Linked DNA regions of Homo sapiens: region 1 is linked to region 2. The links are contacts of gene promoters, found by promoter capture Hi-C in human tissues and cell types (Jung and others, 2019). All regions are on one chromosome and are shown on one strand. Each heading gives the region's core, a stretch centred on a gene start or on the middle of the fragment in contact. The rest is flanking DNA. Distances are from core to core; before and after follow the strand shown. Region 1 has its middle 34 kb from the start of MIR3910-2. Region 2 holds the start of AUH (AU RNA binding methylglutaconyl-CoA hydratase).

Region 1 (2,700 bases), core at 121-2,620, 310 kb before region 2:
AAGACTAAACCAGGAAGAAGTCGAATCCCTGAATAGACCAATAACAAGTTCTGAAATTGAGGCAGTAATTAATAGCTTACCAATAAAAAAAAACCCAGGGCCAGATGGATTCACAGCTGAATTCTACCAGAGGTACAGAGAGGAGCTGGTACCATTCCCTCTGAAACTATTCCAAACAATTGAAAAGGAGGGAATCTTCCCTAACTCATTTTATGAGGCCAGCATCATCCTGATACCAAAACCTGGCAGAGACACAACAACAACAACAACAAATAAACTTCAGACCAATATCCCTGATGAACATCAATGCAAAAATCCTCAATAAAAATACTGGGAAACCAAATCCAGCAGCACGTCAAAAGCTTACCCACCACAATCAAGTAGGCTTCATCTCTGGGATGCAAGGCTGGTTCAAAATATGCAAATCAATAAACGTAATCCATCACATAAAAAGAACCAATGACAAAAACCACATGATTATCTCAATAGATGCAATGCAGAAAAGGCCTTCAATAAAATTCAACATCCCTTCATATTAAAAACTCTCAATAAACTAGATATTGAACATTATCTCAAAATAATAAGAACTATTTATGACAAACCCACAGCCAATATTATACTGAATAGGCAAAAGCGAAGCATTTCCTTTGCAAACCTTCTGCACAGAAAAAGAAACTATCATCAGAGTGAACAGGCAACCTACAGAATGGGAGAAAATTTCTGCAATCGACCCATCTGACAAAGACCTAATATCCAGAATCTACAAGGAACTTAAACAAATTTACAAGAAAAAAACAACCCCATCGAAAAGTGGGCAAAGGATATGAACAGATACTTCTCAAAGGAAGACATTTATGCAGCCAACAAACATATGAAAAAAAGCTCAACATCGCTGATCATTAGAGAAATACAAATCAAAATCACAATGAGATACCATCTCATGCCAGTCAGAACGGCGATTATTAAAAAGTCAAGAAACAATAGATGCTGACGAGGCTGTGGGGAAATAGTGCTTTTACACTGCTGGTAGGAGTGTAAATTAGTTCAACCATTGTAGAAGACACTGTGGCAATTCCTCAAGGATCTAGAACCAGAAATAGCATTTGACCCAGCAATCCCATTACTGGATATATACCCAAAGGAATAGAGATCATTCTAGTATAAAGACACATGCACACGTATGTTTACTGCAGCACTATTTACAATAGCAAAGACATGGAACCAACCCAAATGCCCATTAGTGATAGACTGGATAAAGAAAATGTGGCACATATATGCCATGGAATACTATGAAGCCATAGAAAGGAATGAGATCGTGTCCTTTGCAGGGACATGGATGAAGCTGGAGGCCATCATCCTTAGCAAACTAACACAGGAACAGAAAACCAAACACGGCATGTTCTCACTCATAAGTGGGAGTTGAACAATGAGAACACATGGACACAGGGAGGGGAACAACACACACCGGGGTCTGTCAGGGGATGGGGGGTGAGGGGAGGGACAAATAACTAATGCATGTGGGGCTTAAAACCTAGATGACGGGTTGATGGGTGCAGCAAACCACCATGGCACACATATACCTATATAACAAACCTGCACGTTCTGCACATGTATCCTGGAACTTTAAAACAAACAAACAAACAAACACATTCTATAAAAGCAAAAAGTTAATACATTGGACTTTATCAAAAGTTAAAACTTTTGTTTTGCAAAAGACCCTGATAGGAACGTGGAAAGACAAGCTACTGGGATAAAATATTTGCAAGCCACATCTGGCGCAGGACTCATATCTAGAATAACAAAGAACTCTCAGAAATCAGCATTAAAAGACAACAATCCAACTGGAAAATGGACAAAAGGCAAGAAGAGGATATGCAGATAGAAAATGAGTGCTTGAAAAGGTATTCAACGTCAAACCATATTGGGATATCACTATACATTTATTAGGCCAACTAAACTTTAAAAATAATGGTAACTCTAAATGCTGGTGGAGAAGCAGAAAAACGGTATCTTTCATACATTGCTGGTGAGGATGTAAAATGATACAAGCATTCTATTTTTTGTTTTGTTTTGTTTTTTGATATGGAGTCTCACTCTGTCACCCAGGCTGGAGTGCAGTGGTGTGATCTCAGCTCACTGCAACCTCCGCCTCCTGAGTTCAAGTGATTTCCTGCCTCAGCCTCATGAGTAGCTGGGATTACAGGTGTGCACCACCATGCCCAGCTAATTTTTATATTTTTAGTAGAGACGAGGTTTCACCATGTTGGTCAGGCTGGTCTCAAACTCCTGACCTCGTGATCTGCCCGCCTCGGCCTCCCAAAGTGCTGGGATTACAGGCGTGAGCCACCGTGCCAGCCAATACAGGCATTCTTAAAAGTCATTTGGCAATTTCTTAGAAAACTAAGCTTACACTAACCATAAAATCTAGCCACTGATTTCCTGGGCTTTTATTTCAATCAGCTCAATGAAAACTTATATTTGCACAAAACCTATAAATAATTGTTTATAGCAGCCTTATTTGTATTACCAAAAAGTGGAAACAATGACAGGATTCCTCAATGGATGAATGGTTAAGCAAACTAGGATATATCATACATGGAATACTACTCAGAAATAAAAAAGAAAACAAGTTATTGAAACATACAATACTTGAATGGGTCTCAAAAACATGCTGAGCAAAAATGTCAATATCAAAAGGGC
Region 2 (2,700 bases), core at 118-2,617:
GTGATCCCAGCTACTCAGGAGGCTGAGGTGGGAGGATCATTTGAGCCTGAGATGCAGAGGTTGCAGCGAGAGGCGATCACACCACTGCACTCCAGCCTGGCCGACAGAGCCAGAACCTGTCAAAAAATAAAAAATAAAAATAAAAATAAAAGTGCCTTCAACATCATTTTACAGCAGATGCAGTAATGGAATTCAGTCTACTTTTTGTTTCTACATTGGATAAAAGTTGAGGACATAATGAAGGATGTTTTGCTTAGGACTAAAAAATACAAGAAATTTCTGTGGCACTAGACGTATGCTCATAGCAGCACACTTTTCAAACAGTATTCTTTTTTTTTTTTTTTTTTTTTTTTGAGACAGAGTTTCACTCTTGTTGCCTGGACTGGAGTGCAATGGTGCAGTCTCAGCTCAGGGCAACCTCCGCCTCCCGGGTTCAAGCAATTCTCCTGTCTCAGCCTCCCGAGTAGCTGGGATTACAGGCGTGTGCCGCCACACCTGGCTAATTTTGTATTTTTAGTAGAGACAGGGTTTCACCACGTTGGCCCGGCTGGTCTCAAACTCCTGACCTCAGGTGATCCACCTGCCTCGGCCTCCCAAAGTGCTTGGATTACAGGCGTGAGCCACCGCCCCCTGCCCAGTATTCTTAAATGCAAGCTTTCCCATTAGAGATCTGATAAAAGCTAGGTAGCATTAATTATACTGCAACGTGCTTTGATGAGTACCTACACACTAAATTGATATCCCGAGTTTCTGGAAGAGCTACATACTCTAAATCCCATCTCAGCGTATGGCTTGTTTGAACCCCTGTAAGACTCTTTCCGTCCAGGAAGGGCCATGGGACATCGGTACGAGTGGGTGGGCTGGAGAAAGAACTCCTTTGCCTGTTTGCTGTTCTCATCCTTTTCCTGAACGCCACGTAGTAAACATCATTTATGCTTATCAGGGACGCTAAACCAACAACCTGAGATCCATAAGTAAGGCAGTGACCAACGATGGGCTGCCACACTTTCAGCCAACTTGAGGAGACAAAACTTTTTTGTTCACTTTTGCAGCTTACTTAACACAGGACCGCAGGGCATGGTCCAGGGAGTACGGGGAGATAATTCCCTCCGGGTGGTTCTTATAGAAAAGTCTTCCCTGAATTATTCCATAACCTTGGAAAACTACTTTCTTTCCTTTTGTATTGGACAAACCATCCAATCTCGCTTGGAGAATGGGGCAAGGCCTCGGGTCACCGGGCTTCGGCGGGGCAGTGAGGGGCGGGAACACGGCTCCGGAGGGCGGGGCCAAGCCGGAGCGAGGCGGCGGGTCCGGACGCCGTGCGCGTGCGCGCGGCAGGTCGGCGCCGGGCGGGGGCGGAGCGGCCGTCGCAGGTCCACGCCGTAAACAGACAACATGGCGGCCGCGGTGGCGGCGGCACCTGGGGCCTTGGGATCCCTGCATGCTGGCGGCGCCCGCCTGGTGGCCGCTTGCAGTGCGTGGCTCTGCCCGGGGTTGAGGCTGCCCGGCTCGTTGGCAGGCCGGCGAGCGGGCCCGGCGATCTGGGCCCAGGGCTGGGTACCTGCGGCCGGGGGTCCCGCCCCGAAAAGGGGCTACAGCTCTGAGATGAAGACGGAGGACGAGCTGCGGGTGCGGCACCTGGAGGAGGAGAACCGAGGTGAGGTGCGAACGCTGGGCAGGCGCGGGGCAGCGGGCGGCCGCTCGCTCTCAGGACGGGCATAAGGTGCAGCGTCCGCCGGCAGGACGCGGGGTCGAGGTCAGGCAGGCGCACCGAACCTGGGTCCCTCCCCTTTCTCACCTCCCTACTCACCCAGCGTGGCCGCTTCCTTGTGCACCTATTTCTTGCTTTTAATAACCTAAACGTGTACCCCCGAGCAGCTTACCTGTAAAGTGACCGCATTCAGCGCGGCAAACAGAAGTGCAGCTTACGCCCTCCGCTCCAGACAAGCCAAGGTCAATATATACCCTGGGGATTTAATCCTTGCTACCAGGCTTTATTGTTGCTGTGTAATGGCTTTCTGTAAACTCAGCTATTAGTGGTGGAGTTGTAAAAGCTGCGGTGAAACTGCCTTTTATTATTACGGAGAATCTTAAATTTGAAGCTGCTCAGCTGGAACAATTTTTCCTCTTGTTCATTTTCTCTTAGAAAGTTAGTCTTGAGGGACTGTTCCACTTCATTTAAACAATTTTGAGCACTTTTTATTTTCCTCAGCTCTGGCGATAAGAATGTGGATGGTATGGATCTTGCCCTTGAGCTACCTTCTACGGGAGGAGACATCATTAGCAATACAATACAGAGCTTTGAAGGCTTTGAAGGAGGCTGACAATCCTAGGGAATACTGTTACAGCTCAGTTCCTTTCACTGGCAGTGCAGGGAAAAGCTAAAAGGGTCGTGAAGGGTGGAATAGCAGTTTCCACCCTTAACCTCCGGGTTAAGCCAGAGGACCAGTGTTTTAATTTTGACATGCATTTGTTGAGCACCTATAATCTGTTAAGCAGAAGTGAAAAGCGTGTAAGTCGTGATTGGTTTTAGTGTAGTGAAGCAGATCCTGGTTATTAGTAGGCTGTGTGAACTTTCAAGGCATGGTAAGAGGAAAGGGCTGTAATACCTGCAGGGTTTCGCCATTTGAAAGGGGTTCCAAGGCATTCTTTAATAGGCAGTGGATTTTGCCATTTGTGAGGGTTCTTGGGCAGACTTAT

Evidence for each region. The method cuts DNA at HindIII sites, captures the fragments that hold promoters and counts their contacts. A contact is called where the count stands out against the background at its distance.
Region 1: a contact is called between a fragment that was not itself captured here and the fragment with the promoter of AUH in region 2, in 1 of the 25 tissues and cell types used here (heart right ventricle).

The regions. Positions count from the first base shown.
Region 1 is chr9:91,668,576-91,671,275 of GRCh38, reverse strand. No RefSeq gene overlaps it. Among named protein-coding and RNA genes, the nearest start is that of MIR3910-2, 34 kb to the right of the region's middle. The HindIII fragment of the contact is 3,927 bases long and covers 1-2,700 here.
Region 2 is chr9:91,360,585-91,363,284 of GRCh38, reverse strand. AUH (AU RNA binding methylglutaconyl-CoA hydratase) reads left to right here and starts at 1,367. Exons shown (of 10, transcript NM_001698.3): 1 at 1,367-1,657. The coding sequence starts at 1,396. RefSeq lists a silencer at 1,197-1,636. The HindIII fragment of the contact is 4,188 bases long and covers 1-2,700 here.